Regions from separate parts of the Homo sapiens genome. Here region 2 is linked to region 1. The links are contacts of gene promoters, found by promoter capture Hi-C in human tissues and cell types (Jung and others, 2019). All regions are on one chromosome and are shown on one strand. Each heading gives the region's core, a stretch centred on a gene start or on the middle of the fragment in contact. The rest is flanking DNA. Distances are from core to core; before and after follow the strand shown.

Evidence for each region. Contacts are between HindIII fragments. The study calls those that stand out against the background at their distance.
Region 2: a contact is called between a fragment that was not itself captured here and the fragment with the promoter of PARM1 in region 1, in 1 of the 25 tissues and cell types used here (dorsolateral prefrontal cortex).

What each region holds. Positions count from the first base shown.
Region 1 is chr4:74,931,844-74,935,782 of GRCh38, reverse strand. PARM1 (prostate androgen-regulated mucin-like protein 1) reads right to left here and starts at 2,667. Exons shown (of 4, transcript NM_015393.4): 1 at 2,413-2,667. The coding sequence starts at 2,455. RefSeq lists an enhancer at 1,734-1,783 and silencers at 1,894-1,943, 2,524-2,833. The HindIII fragment of the contact is 8,311 bases long and covers 1-3,939 here.
Region 2 is chr4:76,051,411-76,055,438 of GRCh38, reverse strand. It overlaps a transcript of ART3 not described here. Among named protein-coding and RNA genes, the nearest start is that of CXCL11, 17 kb to the right of the region's middle. The HindIII fragment of the contact is 3,657 bases long and covers 144-3,800 here.

The DNA of each region.
Region 1 (3,939 bases), core at 1,418-3,917:
GCACACATATTTGCAAGTGTCCATTGTATGTGCTGGAGGAAATACTATGTATACTTTGAGAGGATTTGTTGAGCCAAAAAACAGGCCCCTGCCTAATGCTGTTCCTGGCTCAAGAAAGTATCACCTTAAGAATTTTACAGAAATATTGTTGAAGCCTATGGCTAGAGGAGGAAAATGAGAAGGAAACAGAAAAGACACAAGGCCTGGTGAAACTAACTAGAGATTTGCTAGGGGAGTTCTGGGATAAGCCCCCAAAACACATGTGTGTGCACTTTCACTTCAAGAGCCCTCATCCCTTTCTTCTTTACCAACACGTCTATTTTTTTCTTTAAAAATGATATTTTACATTCTGAAAACACCTTAAAATTAAGGTGCAAAGAATCTCATGAGGTATTTATGCCAATTTTTATATTATTTTTTCGGACGATTTATTGCAAAGTAGCTCTAACAACAAACTGACGTCTTAAAGAGATTCCTTCAAAGGCACAAACTTCAGGGGGAATGCAGTGTCCATTAGCTTCATCATTTTCAGCTTGGGATATGCATATCGAAGCATAACTAGGGAAATGAGGCAGTATGTCTTCCTGAGTCTCGAGCCTCACAGCTGGAAGGCTGTGACCATCTGGGCTCTGATCCTAATTAGTGCGTGGGGGTAGGAGTGGTGCTCAGCCGGTCCCTGGCCCACCAGTCTCCTCGCTCTAGCGGTGGGTCAAGGGTGATATTCCTCCCGGAATAGCGGAGCTAAACTGTAACGCTGAATAAAAGAAAAAAGAAAAAAAAAAAAAAGAAAAAAGAGCTTCTTGGGGTGGGGGTGGGGAAGCTACAATACACTGTTTGTTAGGGTTAATCCCGGTTTTGACAACTGCCAGAGCTGTTTAAAAAAGGAAATGATTAAATAAACAAGACAAGCCACTAAATCAAATTTGCAAACGAACCTCTCTACTGACTCACTCAAGGGTTTCTGAACCTCAAGAAAAGATTTTTGAGTGAGGAGAAGTAAAGGTACCTTCCGTGTCATTACGTAAGCATCTCCTGCTTTGAGGATTACAGGAATTACCACCCGCAGCCAGCCGGGAGCTCCGCTGCCTATTGCACCTGCCGGACCTAGGCTCTCTCATCTCAGCCCGAGGCTGGGCAGCCAAAGCCGCCTGCGAGTATTCGGGAACTGTCCGCGGACGCGTCTCCAAACCGTGCCGAGATACCAGCGAGAAAGAGGTTTTCTCAGACGGACGTTCACTAAGTAGAGAAAATACGCTATAGTTTCAAGTTGGGAAACTTTTCCTTATAACTGCATTACCCACTGTGAGCTGCCTGAAAACCGCTAGCTTCTTTTCAAGGGATTGCGACGACTCGTGTCCACAACTGTAGGAACCCGACGAACTCAGAGGGAGGATATACAGACTAAAGCACGAGTAGAATCGGTTTGCGCTATGTGACTTTGGGTCACATTTAAACTGAAAATGCCAGTGGCCGCGCAGTCGGGCTACTTTTCCCAGCAGCACCATATCCACAGCCAGTTGTCCCTTTTCGGGAGACGTTTTCTGGAAAAAATAGGTACCTGAACTCTAGATTCAAAGCGTCTTTCTGAATCTCTCCCCGGTCCCCGCCAAGCCGAGCTCAGTCATCTGGCTCCCCTCTTCCCCATCCCCGCTGCCAGAGGTCGTCGCCGTCTGTGGTCCCGAAACCCGAGAGTGGCTCCTACGAAGCCTTTCAGAGGTGGTGCAGGGGGAGGGGAGAGGATGCTAGTTTAGCCAAGTTAATAGTTTCTTCTATGGGATACGTTTTTGGGGAGTTCTGGGGCAGAAGGTAGCCTTGCTACCCCCAGTGACGATTGCGAGCCTGACCAAGGCCGGGCCGCTGCTGTTAGTGCCACATCATCCTAAGCATAACTAGGAAGGGACGCCGGAGATCAGAGACCGCCAAGACTCGAGAAAGCAAACCAGCCCCGCCAGGCGCGCAGCCGCTGCTGAAGCCTTCCCAGATGCGAACCTCCCACCCCCACTTCCCCGGCTTTTTCATCCCTTCCAGGGCCCAACGGCAACAAGAAGTCTGGTCCCGTACTTTGGCAGAGTGCGCTCCGAAACCCTGGTGAAGAAAGAGAAGCCTTGAGGCGCAGTCCGTGTTGCCCACTCTGGGTTCGAACACGCAGCTAAGACAGCCACCTGTTCTACAAAGCTGGAGTTTGTGCGGGCGCGGGCTGCGGCAGGAAGGACCCCATCGTCCCCTCCCTCAGTACGGTTCGGGACCGCCAAAGGTGCACGTCACCCCAAATCTAAGTGCGCACACACCTGCGCACTCACCCGGAGGCGCGCGGCGACTCACTGCCGGATCTCCTAGCTTCAGCCCCGACCACGCGCTAGCTACTGGGGCCCACCCCGCGACCTGCCCTTCCGGGAGGATGGCGCCAATTACCTGCAGTTAAGATGCAAAGAGCGAAGAGAGTCTTGTAGACCATGGTAGCCTGGTATTTGGTGCCCAGCCCGGGGCGGGCGGCAAGGAGTTTGCGGACTGACAGAGCGCACTGGGCGCTGGTAGCGACTCCTCTGCCGGGTGGGCTGCGGTGGGAGCCGGGAGGCGCGAACAGCTCCAGTGGAGGGCGCGAGGCAAACGAGGCGAACGCAGCGCAGCTCCGTCAGCTGCGTGCCCTCCGGTGCTCCGCGCTCTTCTGCTCCATCCCAGCCGCCCGAGCCCGGGGCCGCCTCCGCCTCCGCCGCCGCCGCCGCGCCTGCCGCTGCCAAACCCCTCCCACCCGGGCCCCGCGGCGATGACTGGGCCACCCCCTGGCCTTCCTTCTCTCAGCCCTCAGGTCCCGAGAGCCCCGGCCCAGAGCGGCCTCTGCTGGACAGTCAAGACACGAGACCCTGGGTTCAGCAAATGTTTGCAGCGCCTTGCACTGTGCTGGGAACTAGGGATGCAAAGAAATGTGAGCACATCTCTGCCCTTAGGAATCTAGCTCAGCTTTTCCTACATGAGCTTACAGCCTTTAAAAAGGTGACCTTATGCCATTTTAGGAGTTCCCTCGGAGAACCGGCACATGTTCCAAGAATGAGGACCTTCTTCATTTGTCAAAACACTTCTGCGTGTACATCATTAAACCCTCATCCACATTAAACCCGGCTGAGCTTCCTGGGGCCCGAACCAGGATGTCTGCCGCTGCATTCAGCTTCTTACTAGAAGAAAATACTGTCGGGGGGATAACTAAGCCAGACACCCTACTAGGCGTTGTTTCATGAATCCTTCTAAGAATTATTATTATTCCATTTTACAGGTGAGAAAATGAAGGCACAGAGAAGACAATGTTCTCAAGGTCGCATAACTGGTAAGAATAGTTTGTGCACTAGGCCCATAATAAAGGCTGACGTTTCCTGAGTGATTGCTATGTGCTAGGCACTGGACAACGTGCTGTTCAGGAATCAACCAAGTCATTTAGTTCTCACAACAATCCTTGGAGATTATATCCTCGTTTTCAGGGGAGAAAGTAGAAGCACAGAGAAGTTTAACTTGCCCGAGTTCACACAACTCGCAAGTAATGATAAGATGCCTGCCCAGGCACCCCGCTCAGCCTCTGTACTCTACTCCCTCTCAAGAGCCCAAAGCTTCTCCAAAGCCTACAGATTAGAACTGACCTTTCATTCAGTTCCCTCCCTGCTCTTGCTACACTTTAGGCTTGCTTAATTCTCACACTTCGATCAAAGCAGATGCCAGGTTCTCTCCCAATTCTGTTATTAATGAACCTATTGGTCCCCTAGTCACTAGAGCTGGGGCACTGCAGGAGTTAACAAGCCTTTGTAAAGAAATGATTTGCGTGGAAGGCAGCTTTCTTTTTTCTGTAATATCTTCTTCATATGCCATGGGCTCTGTTCTCACTTCTTTCTCACATACCAGAAGCTGACTCTAGGAGTCCTGAGCACCTTATCTATGGTCAATTCCTCTGCCTGA
Region 2 (4,028 bases), core at 723-3,222, 1.1 Mb before region 1:
TTCTTCTTCTCTAAATTGCCACTAATGTCCTTTTTACAGTGCCCCTTCTTACAGAATTATTGTGAGGACTAGTGAGACACTATGTACATTACGTGCCACATGGGAGACATTAAACAAATGATGGCAATTATTCTGGACTCCATCACTCATCCAGTTACCACCACATACCCAGCCACCAACTGCACAAATACAAGGTGAGAGGTAGACACTCAGAGCTGAAGAGTGAGCCACATTTCTCTGACTACACCTTTTACTGCTCATACTGAAAGTAAGAACAGGGAAGTAAGAAACACAGAAAGTAAGCTAGGTTGTAGATTCAAAGGTGAAACCAGGATGTTAGGAAAGCCTTAGAAAAATGACAAGAGGCCAGGCATTGTGGCTCACGCCTGTAATCTCAGCATTTTGGGAGGCCAAAGCAGGAGACTTGCCTGAGGCCAGGAGTTTGAGTCCAGCCTGAGCAACATAACAAGACTGTCTCTAAAAAAAGAAAGAAAACAAGAAAATTGACAGAAATGTTTTATTGGCTTTTCATTACAAGGAAAATAGCATTCAGCACAATGTATAAAATTTTAGAAAACATAGCCTAAATATTTATTTATTTATTTTGAGACAGGGTTTCACTCTGTAGCCTAGCCTGGAGTGCAGTGGATGATCATAGCTCATTGCAACCTTGATCTCCTGGGCTCAAGTGATCCTCCAGCCTCAGCCTCCCAAATAGGTGGGATTACAGGTGCACACCAGCACAACCAGCTAATTTTTCAAATTTTTAGTAGAGATGGGGGTCTCACTATGTTGCTTAGGCTGGTCTCAAACTTCCAAGCTCAAGTGATCCTCCTGTTTCAGCTTCCCAAAGTGTTGGGATTGCAGGCATGAGCAACTAAGCCCAGCCTAAATATTTTAAAAGTATTATTTTTGTTTTGAATCCAAAAGAAAGTAATTTAAGTATCAAGATTATATAAGAAATAAAATAGCTAGAACAAAAAACATCTTTCCTGTCCTATTTTTTTTATATTCGCACTCTCAACTATATCTATTTAAAACATTAAGTTTAATAACACTTAGTTCAAACTGGCAAATGATGTGTCCTGAAATACTCCTTATAAATGGTCATTTTACTATATTCTATTTTTTAAAAATACAAATAAATCCAATGAAGCTTCATACCTTGCAGACATAGCTCTTCTAACATTCACATGCAGGGGTCATCTCTCCAAGCAAGCTCCTTTGTGCATTTATTCTCTTTCCAACTAGCCCTGAAATAATATCGACCAGATCTATTTTCTCCTCTCCTCCAGCTTCTCTGAGTAGCAGAAGCAATAAACTAATAATGGTAAGTGAAGCTACTATTTCTCCCTTCTTACTGAATCAAGCTTCCTTCAGTTAGTCGCTTGTAAAGTTGCTCATTGCTTAATCTCTCACGTTTCTATCCCCTAACAATAGGCATGTTGTTTCCCAACTTGAAAAATTAACATGAACGTCTACATTGACCTGGCAGTTGTCGAGTGCAGTCATTTTCCAGGCAGCCAACTAAAGGCCATGCACAGAGCTGCTTTGTTGTGAGAAACATGATTTCTCTGAAGTTTATGGTGATGCTGAAGTTGTTTTGTACAACCCACTGTTCCTGGCTCACATACATACAAATGACAGCAAACATTCTGACAGAGGTACAGAGGACATGGAAAAGAGGGTTAGTCTATTCAATGAGCTGGCAGAACTTGATCATTTCTACTTCTGTGTTCTAAATTTTAACATATGCGACTTTGAATTTTACCTACAATTTTAAAGGAAAGTAATTGGTTTTAAACCCATATTCTTTTTTTCTTCTGAATTCCTGTGGAAATAAATTAAGTAGCTTTTCTTTGACGACTGTTAATTATACCCTAATAAAATTAACTTGGCAGTAGACTTGGCAAAAAGTAATATTCCAAGGCAATTAAATTTGGTTATAGATAAAACAAACAATATTTATATACTGTGCTTTGCCAGGTTGAAAAAAGAGACAAATAATAGCTAGTTTTTTTTTAGTAACTCTTCTACCAAAAAGGTAGAGAAACACTGTTTTCTTTTCAGAAGAGGAATGGTAGATCAAACTCTTAATTAATTTATAAGAAAATGAGAGAGCTGTAGTTAATAAATCAGGTATAGCTTAAATGTTCCAGGAAGACTCTTCCTGTGCAATAAATTTAATTAAGCCAATGAGAAACAATCCAATTCCAGTGACAAGATAGAGATAACCTGTACGTGATCAGCATGAACAGGCATAGTTAAAAAACAAAGTAAATTGAACTACCAGTAACTATTTTTCAAATCCTTAATCACTGGAAACTAAAGCTTATTTCTTCTTTTTGTGCTCAACTTTCAGGGAACAAATAACTGCCCTTCCTTTAAAGTCAGAAATTTGGTACACACCAGCTGGGTGCAGGGGCTCATGCTTATAATCCCAGCATTTTGGGAGGCTGAGGCAGGTGGATGGCTTAAGACCAGGAGTTTGAGACCAGCCTTGCCAACATGGTGAAACCCCGTCTCTACTAAAAATACAAAAATTAGCCTGGTGCGGTGGCACAGGCCTGTAATCCTAGCAACTTGGGAGGCTGAGGCACGAGAATTGCTTGAATCTGTTTGCTTGAATCTGGGAGGCAGGGGTTGCAGCAAGCCGAGATCGTGCCCGTGCACTCCAGCCTGGATGACAGAGCAAGACTCTGTCTTAAAAAAAAAAAAAAGAAGGAAAAAAGAAATTGGGTACACGCATGTTCTCACTTACAAGTGGGAGCTAAATAATGTGTACACATAGACATAGAGTATGGAATGATAGACAGTGGAGACTTGGAAGGGTTGGGGGCGGTGGATGATGAGAAACTACTTAATGGGTACCATGTACATTATTCTGGTGATGGATACACTAAAAGCCCTAATTTCACCACTATGCAATATATCCATGTAACAAAATTATATTTGTATCCCCCAAATTTATACTGACAAGGAAAGGAAAGGTAGATGGCTACCAGTGGCTCTCTCAAGCATGAGAAGTTCCGTATGGTGATACGGTAGTCACTGAAAACTGGCCCTTATTCTGTGCATGCACTTGCGACTGCAATGTTTGGGGTAGCACATATCAAGGATGAAGTCATCCTTATAAAATGTGAGCATTGATATATCTCATTCTCAAATACCAGACTACATTAGCAGAATACAACCTTTGGAAATCTCTTCTTATGTCAAAGTCCCAGAAAGAGATAAAGCATATTGACCAGGCAGGTCTCAAAATCCTGACTTCAGGTGATCTGCCCACCTCAGCCTCCCAAAGTGCTGGGATTACAGGCGTGAGCATGGCGAAACCCCGTCTCTAATAAAAATACAAAAAAAATTAGCTGGGCATGGTGGCAGGCGACCGTAATCCAGGCTACTCGGCAGGCTGAGGCTGGAGAAAGGCTTGAACTCAGGGGCGGAGGTTGCAGTGAGCTGAGATTGCGCCATTGCACTCCACTCCAGCCTGGGCAGCAAGAGCGAAACTCTGTCTCAAAAAAAAAAAAAAAAAAAAAAGAGAGAGAGAGAGATACAACATAAACTCAGAAACATCCTTATTTAAAATTCATTGTCAGCCAGGTACAGTGGCTTATGCCAGTAATCCCAGCACTTTGGGAGGTTGAGGTGGGAAGACCACTTGGGCACAGGAATTCGAGACCAGCCTGGGCAACATGGCGAAACCCCAACTCTACCAAAAATACAAAAACATTAGCTGGCTGTGGACGTGTGTGCCCATAGTCCCAGCTACTCAGGAGGCTGAGGTGGGAAGATGGTTTGTGCCCGGGAGGCAGATACTGCGGTCAGCCGAGATCACGCCATTGCACTCCAGCCTGGGCGATAGAGCAGGTCTAAAACAAACAAACAAAAAATTCATCATCACTTTGGAACTCTTTTCAATGGCATTAAAACATGCATTATTCCTCAACGTCTTAATGATTTTAATGTTATTTATACAATTTACTCCAAGTTTTGATGAAAAAAATAGAGCCTTACCCAGTGCCTAA